Regions from separate parts of the Homo sapiens genome. Here all the other regions are linked to region 2. Evidence: promoter capture Hi-C in human tissues and cell types (Jung and others, 2019). All regions are on one chromosome and are shown on one strand. The core of a region is centred on a gene start or on the middle of the fragment in contact, and the rest is flanking DNA. Distances in the headings are between cores, read along the strand shown.

Region 1 (3,254 bases), core at 86-2,585, 53 kb after region 2:
AGGTGGTGGGGATCCTGTGCTGGGCAGCTGGAGCTGGAGCAGGGACAAGTGTGGGGAGAGAAGGCATGAGTGCCCGGCACTCAGCGATTCCCGCCCCCCTTGCATGTTAACCTCGTCCTCCAAACCTGTTCTGCTTTCCCCATCCCACTCCTGCCTCTCCCTACAGCTCCCATTTCCTCCCCTCCCCTTCCTACCAGCTCAGTGCATTAGCACCCTGCAAGCTGCTTTGCCTCCAGCATTCTGCAGAAACTGCTCTTCTGGTGCCTCCTCCAGCCTCCACTTCCCCTTTCAGTCCCCGCATTGTGGACAAGATTCAAACCACCTGCTTCCTCCATCCCACACTGTTTTTCGAAATCTCATCTTTTGGCCCCACCTCTACACAAATGACTGAATCTCTTGTTCTCAGCTGCCTGCTGGACAATTTAAATGTCTTCCCGTTACCTCAACATTGGCCAGACAAAAGTCTACCTGGGCACCCTGTTCTCTTTATTGGTGCTATTTCTGCAGGCACCTGGCCTGGCTCCCCTTTCCCCTCTCCTTCATCTCCCTCTGCACTCGCATCCACCGGTCCTCTCCATCCCGACGGTCACTACCCATATCCGAGCTCCCCTCCTCCTGGGGTCAGTGCTGGGGCATGTTGCCCCAGTCCCTGTTTCTAGCATCTCCCCTCTCCAACCCACCCTAAACACCACTGCCCACACCGCGTGCCTATAGCATGTTTCATCACAGCCTTCTCCAGCTTCCCACTTCATGCTCCTTAGCCTGGCTTAGTCTGGCCCCAGTCCAACTGTCCCCTAGGAATCTCCTGACTCCTCTACCTTAGCCTCTGCCCAGTCTGTCTTGCCCCTGAGGACTGGTCCTTCCTCTCCCTCCTGCTTGTCTGAGACCTGGCCCTCCTCCAAGGCTGGTGACATCCCAACTCCCCGATCCCTCCTGGGCTGTCTCTGTCCTCCGGGACTTCCTCAGTCCCGGAGCTTCTGCAGACTAGCCCTATGTGTCTCTCCAGCTACATTGCAAGGCCTTCGAATAGAGACTTGGCGCATTTCCTCCTTTCGCGTCTCCCTGGTGCCTTAGCCCAGCGCCTTTGAAGATGGTGCTTAGTGCATTTCGATAAGGGGCTGAGCTGAGAAGGCTGGAGACTGGGAGCAGAAATCCTGAGTCCTCTCACCTGGATGACCATGGGCAAGAGTTTCCCATCAGGCTGCAGTTTCAGCATGACCAGAGGGGCAGCCAGGTGCTGCTGGCTACAGAGACTGACGTTGGCCTTGATCCCATCCAGCAGGGAGAAGTCAGCTTCGAACAATGTGCCTCCCTGGGTGCAGGAAGAGGTCAAAGGCTGCTATCAACATAAAGCATCTTCTTCCCACTCGGATTCCTCCAAGGGGGAAGAGAGAGAGAGAGAGGAGAGAGAGAGAGAGAGAGAGAGAGAGAGAGAGAGAGAAGCTAACTTGTCTCCATCACCTACTTTGTACCAGGTAATGGATCATGTGCTTATTGCCTCATATCATTGTTTATTTTTTGAGCCAGGGTATTACTCTGTTGCCCAGGCTGGAGTGCCATGGCGGGACCACCATGGCTCACTGCAGCCTTGACTTCCTTGGGCCCAGGTGATCCTCCCACCTCAGCCTCCCAAATAGCTGGGACTACAGGTGCATGCCACTACACCAAAAGTTACAGGTGCTAATTTTTGTATTTTTGTAGAGGCAGGGTTTCACCACGTTGCCTAGGCTGGTCTCCAACTATTGGGCTCAGGTGATCCTCCTGCCTCGACCTCCCAAAGTGCTGGAATTACAGGTGCAAGCCACTGTGCCCAGCCTTATAATTTTTATACCTAGTTGAACGAGCCTCAGTTGCACAGAAGAGGAAACAGATAATCAGAGAGGCTGGGTATTTTGCCTGAGGTCACACAGCTTACAAATAGCAGAACCAGGATTCACATCCAAGCCTATCTGCCCTTAATCCCATGAATTTCCTCTCTGTTGTTCCATATCGCCTCCTGATGAACAGCCACAGCACTCTGATCCTGACTCTCTTACTCTGCACACTCCCCGAATCCCTAGCACCAGGGGCCAGTCACATTTCTTCATTTGACCCTGTTTCTATCAACCATTCCATCTTGCACGCCCTCCCTCCACAGCTACTCTCGTGTGGGAAGGAGGCCGAGCAGCTGAGCTTCTCCAGGGTCCCTCAGGACCTCTCCTGCAGAATCCGTCCTTGCTGGCTGGCAGCAAGCCAGGCCCACAGTGGGTCCCGCAGCAGCATCATTGGCACTAGGCCACCCCACTTCACTGCTGAGCTTCCTCAGGGCTCTGATGTCCATACCTCCAGCTCCTTCTCCAGCTGGGCCTGCAGTTCCTCCATGCCTGGAGGGAACACTAGGCGAGCAGGAAGGTGAGCAGAGCGCCTCAGCACCACGGGGTTGGCGCCATTAAGAAACTGGTACCCAAATAAGGCATCTTCCTTCCAGGAGTCCCGCACGCGCTCTGGGGAAGGCAGTTGTTGAGCAAGTTGTGGGATCTGAGCTCTTGGTCCTTCCAACCCCACCAACCATGCCCCCTTGACTCCAGCCCACCAGAGGGACCCAAGTCTCTGGTCTCCCCACCCTGCTTCTTTCAATTCCCCTGGGTTGGGTGGGATCTGGGGGTAAGCGTCCTGGGAGACATATTGGGGTGGGGGACTGACCAGCCAGCTTGCTCTGGCCACAGCAGAAAATCTGGTTGAAGTCATTCAGATCATTCTAGCAAGTCGGAACATTATTTTATTTTTGAGATGGAGTCTCACTCTGTCACCAGGCTGGAGTGCAGTGGTGCAATCTTGGCTCATTGCAACCTCCACCTCCTGGGTTCAAGCAATTCTTGTGCCTTAGCCACCCAAGTAACTGGGACTACAGGCGCGTGCCACCACGCCCAGCTAATTTTTGTATTTTTAGTAGAGACAGGGTTTCACCATATTGGCCAGGATGGTCTCGATCTCTTGACCTCGTGATCTGCCCGCCTCAGTCTCCCAAAGTGCTGGGATTATAGGCGTGAGCCACCATGCCCAGCGTCAGAACATTTAGTTTTTGATAGTGAGGTCGGCCAGCCTTCAGGACAGAATGGGGCAAAGGGTTTGAGCATCATTCTGAGACTCCAACATGACAGCCACAGGCACCGACCTTGAGCCGGTCCAGTGCAGTGCAGTGCAGCCCATAAGCCCCTTGGCTTCCACTAGACCAGGACACCTCCCTCTCACCCAGCCTCCCCTTGCTCTCACCC
Region 2 (3,232 bases), core at 96-2,595:
TAAGAGGTACAAATTGTGCTAAGTGCCCTGGGGACACAGGAAAGGCGGGAAAACCCAGGGCTATATGCATGAGAGTTACAAAGGGAAAAGGACAGGAGGGAGGCAATTGCAGGAGGGGCTTGGGAGAATGCATGTCCTTGGGTGCAGGTCACAGGAAGGAACTCATGAGCTTGATTCAGGATGTGTTGAATTTTCGGGCCGAGACACGTCCAGTCTGCGGAAGGCTGGACATCTGGGACTCTGGCATCATGGCTGGGTTGAAGGCAGAGGATGGTAATCACTAAGGAGCCGGCTGTGGTTAGGCCACCAGCATGGATGAGACTCCCCAAAAGGAAGCTGCAGAATGAGAGGCAGGCAGAGGAGAGGAAAGAAGAAAATCACAGAGGTGGGGATGTCTTTGCATCCGTGTGTCTCCAGTGCCCAAAACAGGGCCTCGCGGAGAAGAGGTGCTCGGCACCTGTCTGTTGCCTGGCGGGCTGAATGAATACATGGGCGACTGTCTCAGTGTCGCCTTAGTTGTGTCCCTTCCTCTCTAGAGCTCCGTTTCCCTCTGACCTGGGTCGGGCGGGCAGCTGCGGCTGCTGAGGCTCGGTGGGGCCCCTCCAAGACGCGTGTCCGCATCTGCCCGCCGGGCGTCTGCGGGGTGCAGCGTCCACTGGAGCGCGACAGCCCCTGGGACAGAGGAGGACAGTGGCCTCGCTTCCCTGTGCGATCGCCCAGGAGCTCCGGGCCGGAGAGTGCGAGCGGGGAAAAGGGGTCCTGCACCTAGAGTGGGGCGGACGTGGCGAGGAAGCCAGGGGGGACCGGGAAGCGAGGCCCGCGGTGCGGAGGGCGCGGGGCGTGGGGGGACACCTCTCGGAGAGACACCGGAGGGGCGGAAGTAAGGAGATGGAAAGGAGAGGGAGATCGGGGAGATAGACCTGAGAGACCCAGAGGCCTGCAGAGAGTTTCATCCGGGACCCTTCAGAGCCCAGGAAAGAGCAGATGCGGACGCGGGAGGGCGCCTTACGCCAAAGCGGGCAGCACCAGTGACCAAAACACGCCCCGCTTGGCAGCCCCGGGACGCACCTCTGCCTCGGCAGCGCAGGAGAGGCTTGGACAGCGCGAGATGCTAGGGCCCAGGCTGCCCCTAGAGGGCTGGCCCGAAGCGTTGGAGTCCAAAGACGCCTCCCACCGCCGCCGGGTGGCAGAATTGGGGGCAGGCGCGTCCCACAGACCCCGAGGGGTGGCCCCGCCCCAGGGCCGCGGGGAGGCGCCCCCGTGCGGGGCGGAGTTGTCACCGCCCCCTCCCCAATCCCCGGGGACTGTGGCCCCTTCTTAAGCCCGCGGCGCCTCTAGCTGCCCCTCACTCGTCTCGCCCGCCAGTCTCCCTCCCGCGCGATGGCCTCGGCGCTGAGCTATGTCTCCAAGTTCAAGTCCTTCGTGATCTTGTTCGTCACCCCGCTCCTGCTGCTGCCACTCGTCATTCTGATGCCCGCCAAGGTCAGTTGCATCTCCAGGCAGCCCTTCGGACACCCGGCGTCCTGTGCCCACTAACGGGCACCGATCCCGGGAGCCCTGAGCTGGAGCGCACGGATTTCGCGGGGAGCACAGCTCTCCCGGGGCGCGCGCACTCAGGAGCTCCAGGTGCCGGATGGGAGGTGCCCTGTAAAGAATCTGAGGGGCATGGCGACCCCAGGGCGCACCACCCTTGGGGTTTACAGATCCCAGGGCGCAAGAGCCGTCCAGGCAAGCACGGAAACCTCGAAGTGAGCACAGATCTCAGCCACACAGATCCCAGCCTTAGGCTCAGCCCCTGGCTCCGAATCGAATCTCCCACAGTGCATAACCCTGTTTCCCCCCAAAATGCCACCTGCGCCAACAGGGAACCTGGGAGCTTGCCTTTCCCTCTCTCTCTCCTGTCTTTTCCCTTCGCCAAAGAAGACTTCAAGCTGTAGGTGGCTTCTGCCGTCAGGAGGGACCTACAGGAAAAAAATCATCACCCACGTGGATCCTGCGCTGTCTTTGCCACTCTCTGGCCCTTCCTTGGGCCTTAGTGTCTCTATCTATGATCCACATTCCTTCCAACCTGGAGAGCCACATCTGATTCATAATCCTGCTCCAGGCTGCAGGCAGGTTGGGGTTGGCCTGCTTTGCCTCCTGCCTGCTGGGGCTGTAGCAGGAGGCGGGACACATTCCCAGAGCTCGCGCCTTGGGTGGCAGGACCTGGAGTTGCAGGGAAGCTTCCTCCCAGGCCCTAGTCTCCTAATGCTTCTGTGAGGGAGAGAGAGAATGAATGGCCTTGGCCGCAGGGTGGGCGCAGGCTCCACTGGGCTGTGCACAGCCAGTTTGGCGGAGGCCCAAGCCCTTTGAAGCCTTTTGTGGCTGCTGGCTGCTCCTTCCTCGTTCCTTCTTTCAGCCCTTTCACTCTCAGCCCAGACAGGAAACCTCCAGCTCCCCACCTCCCCTCCCCAGGCAGGTTTGGGAAACAGAGGAGCTCTTCAGGGGATGCTCTGGGGGGGAGCTCTAGAGGAAGGGAGTGCACTGGGGTGTCAGGAAGCCAACCTGCAAGAGAACTGGACTTCCACCATTCTGTCATCTGTGTGACTTTAGCCAAGTGCCTGTGCTCTCTGGGCCTTGGTGTTCTCATCTGTACAATGGGGCTAGGTGGTTTGGTTCTGACACTTTAAGGCTTTGGGAATCAAAAGGGATTAACGTTAGTTCCTAGGATGGGGGAGGGGGAGACTGGGAGGAGCCCTTGGGTGGGCCTAGCACAGGCCCTGGATGGGTCAAGGACAGCAGATCCAACTGTGGAGGCTGTGCAGTTGCCACACCAACTGTGGGCAGCCACACTTCCTCTGTAGCAAGAAGTCTGGGGTTGTTATTGTCCAGGGGAAGTAGCCAGGCAGGAGAGCTGCGATTTCAGCTCTGCTGGTAGGGAGTGATGTTCCCTGGAATGATTATAGTAGCTTGGCTGACCTTCCTGCCACAGGAGACCCCACTCACACACACACACATACACACTCTCTCTCTCACACACACACACTCACAAACACACACAGACACACACACAAACACACAGACACACACAAAACACACGCACAAACACAAACACACACAAAAACACACGCACAAACACACACCCAAACACACAAACACAGACACACAAACACACACACAAACACACACACAAAACACACAAAAAACACAAACACACACATACACATACACACACACACACACACACACCCTG
Region 3 (3,192 bases), core at 66-2,565, 63 kb before region 2:
ATCAACCCAAATGCCCATCAATGATCGACAGGATTAAGAAAATGTGGCACATATACACCATGAAATACTATGCAGCCATAAAAAAGAATGAGTTCATGTCCTTTGCAGGGACATGGATGAAGCTGGAAACCATCATTCTCAGCAAACTAACGCAGGAACAGGAAATCAAACACTGCATGTTCTCACTCATAAGTGGGAGTTGAACAATGAGAACACATGGACACAGGGAGAGGAACATCACACAATGGGGCCTGTCGGGGGGTGGCGGGCAAGGGGAGGGAGAGCATTAGGACAAATACCTAATGCATGCGGGGCTTAAATTCTAGATGACAGGTTGATGGGTGCAGCAAACCACCATGGCACATGTATACCTATGTAACAAACCTGCATGTTCTGCACATGTATCCCAGAACTTAAAGTATAATAAAATAAATAAGTAAATAAAAGCTCCATGAAACCTTTTGGCCTAGCAAGGTTGTAGGTCAGGAAAAGTCATCAGACACTGGTGCTGTAAGGGTGGGGTTGGAAGAATATGTGTGTCTGGAAGAGTTGCTGTAAGGAGACTCCAAATTCTATTTAATGACTGGGAGCCTCCCCTTACCCCCCGAGACCCCATCAGAGGCAGTGTAGCTTAGTGGGCTGCATCCTAGCTATGCCCATTACAGTCGGATGACCTTAGGCAAGTCAATTTCTTTATGTGTGAATCCTCACATCTGTATATGGGGTAATAATAGTGCCTTTCTCTTAGTGTTGGGAGGATTAAGTGAGCTGATACCTGGAAAGCACCGGGAACAGTGAGTGCCTGCCACGTAGTAAACGCTATACAAGAGCTGGCTGCCATTAATAAGAAAGTTGGTGCCGAGGTACTTCTGCAACGTCCCGCCAAGGAAGATAGGAATACAAACACATCCATTTCACAAATACGGAAACGGAGGTGTTGGAAGGTGAATAAAGTTTCCCAGGGAGAACGTGTAGTAAGTGGGGAGATAGGATTCGAACCCAGGGTTGGTCCACCATATCACACAGCTGCCAACCAGGGAGGGAAATCTAAAGATGTCCTACCCACCGCGGGAGGGGGAGTTGGCCTGGCAACTCCTGCAGCCAAAGATGCTTCCCAGAGGGGGTGATGAGAGCAGCCCGCCTCCCCGCCGCGGGCCTCGGGGCATCCCACCGCCACCCCAGCCTGCTCCGGCCCGCATTCTCCCGTTACCCGTTCGCTGAACCCCGCTCGGGCTGCAGGGACTGGAGCGCGCCTACCTGCTCCGCCCGCGCAGCTGTTGCTCCGACGCCAACTCCATGGGCGCCCCGGGTCTGCGCCTTGCTCTGGCCCAAGCTAAATGCCAAGCTCCGGCCGCCTTTGTGACGCGCTGCCGCCTGCAAGGCTCTGTTCCTGCCCCCGGGTCGCAGAGCCCCAAACCTGCAGTTGCCTGGTCAGTGGATCCCATGTGCAGAGGGCGAGACGGGGCCCTGGCCAGGCGTTGGGAGGCGGGAGGCTCGGCCGGCGCTCCGGGTGAGGATGGCACGCCCCCGCCCTTGCTTCTGCGCACAGGGAAGACATTCGGCCCCGAACTTGGGGCTCAAAACGGTTCAGTTCGCTGCCTTTCCCATCCTGACCCAGCCCCGGGTTTTTTCCGAAGCCGCCGCTGGATAGGTTGCATTACTAGGCTTCCCCCAGCCACTCTCCCTGCCCAAAGCCTTCAGAAGCCGCCCCTCTCCCCTTCACCTGGCCCTTATCCACTGTCCCAGCCTCATTTCTTTCCCCCTCCCTGAATGTCTTCTGCTCCCCTTTCCTTGGGCACTGCCCTTATCCTGGGGTCCTGGCTGCTGCCATTCCTGGCCCTGGAAAACCAGTGCGGAACCCAAAGAAAGGTGGAAGAGCAGCTTTTAGAGAGGTGTTTTTATTCTTTGGGGACAAAGCCGGGTTCTGTGGGTGTAGGATTCTCCAGGTTCTCCAGGCTGTAGGGCCCAGAGGCTTAATCAGAATTTTCAGACAAAACTGGAACCTTTCTTTTTTCCCGTTGGTTTATTTGTAGTCCTTGGGCAAACCAATGTCTTTGTTCGAAAGAGGGAAAATAATCCAAACGTTTTTCTTTTAACTTTTTTTTTAGGTTCAGGGGCACATGTGTAGGCTTGCTATATAGGTAAATTGCATGTCACCAGGGTTTGTTGTACAGATTATTTCATCATCCAGATAAAAAGCATAGTACCAGATAGGTAGTTTTTTGATCCTCACCCTCCTTCCATGCTCCGACCTCAGGTAGGCCCCAGTGTCTGCGGTTCCCTTCTTTGTATCCATGTGTACTCAATGTTTAGCTTCTACTTATAAGTGAGAACATGTGGTATTTGGTTTTCTGTTTCTGAGTGAGTTCATTTAGGATAATGGCTTCCAGCTCCATCCACGTTGCTGCACAGGACATGATCCCATTCTTTTTTATGGCTGCATAGTATTCCATGGTGTATATGTGCCACATTTTCTTTTTTTTTTTTTTAAGGCAGAGTCTCGCTTGGTTGCCCAGGCTGGAGTGCAGTGGCAGGATCTCGGCTCACTGCAACCACCACCTTCCAGGTTCAAGCGATTCTCACGCCTAGGCCTCCCAAGTAGCTGGGATGACAGGTGCTCGCCACCACGCCTGGCTAATTTTCGTATTTTTAGCGGAGACGGAGTTTCTCCATGTTGGCCAGGCTGGTCTCAAACTCCTGACCTCAGGTGAACCACCCGCCTCAGCCTCCCAAAGTGCTGGGATTACAGACATGAGCCACCACTCCCTGCCACCACATTTTCTTTATCCTTTCTACCACTGATGGACATTTAGTTTGATTCCCTGACTTTGCGATTGTGTATAGTGCTGCCGTGAACATTTGTGTATATATGTCTTTATGACAGAATGATTTAGATTCCTTTGGGTATATAACCAATAATGGGATTGCTGAGTCAAATGGTAATTCTGTTTAATCATGTCCCATTTGTCAATTTTTGCTTTCGTTACAATTATTTTTGGGATCTTTGTCATGAAATCTTTTTCCGTTCCTATGTCCAGAATGGTATTGCCTAGGTTATCTTCCAGAGTTTTTATAGTTTGGGGTTTTACATTTAAGTCTTTAATCCATCTTGAGTTGATTTTTGCATATGGTGTAAGGAAGTGGTTCAGTTTCAATCCTCTGCATATGGCTAGCTAGTTATCCCAGTACCAC

Evidence for each region. Contacts are between HindIII fragments. The study calls those that stand out against the background at their distance.
Region 1: a fragment that was not itself captured here is called in contact with the fragment with the promoter of SLC13A5 in region 2 in 6 of the 25 tissues and cell types used here (liver, mesendoderm cells, ovary and 3 more).
Region 3: the fragment with the promoter of FBXO39 here is called in contact with the fragment with the promoter of SLC13A5 in region 2 in 2 of the 25 tissues and cell types used here (mesendoderm cells and thymus).

Annotation. Positions count from the first base shown.
Region 1 is chr17:6,657,983-6,661,236 of GRCh38, reverse strand. It overlaps the pseudogene ALOX15P1. Among named protein-coding and RNA genes, the nearest start is that of MIR4520-1, 4.1 kb to the right of the region's middle. The HindIII fragment of the contact is 8,121 bases long and covers 1-3,254 here.
Region 2 is chr17:6,711,482-6,714,713 of GRCh38, reverse strand. It overlaps SLC13A5 (solute carrier family 13 member 5), which reads left to right and starts at 1,345. Exons shown (of 12, transcript NM_177550.5): 1 at 1,345-1,482. The coding sequence starts at 1,381. The HindIII fragment of the contact is 16,548 bases long and covers 1-3,232 here.
Region 3 is chr17:6,774,338-6,777,529 of GRCh38, reverse strand. It overlaps FBXO39 (F-box protein 39), which reads right to left and starts at 1,315. Exons shown (of 4, transcript NM_153230.3): 1 at 1,258-1,315. It overlaps XAF1 (XIAP associated factor 1), which reads right to left. Exons shown (of 7, transcript NM_017523.5): 7 at 1,883-3,192. It overlaps LOC124903905 (a long non-coding RNA gene), which reads left to right and starts at 1,420. Exons shown (of 3, transcript XR_007065594.1): 1 at 1,420-1,510. The HindIII fragment of the contact is 13,622 bases long and covers 1-3,192 here.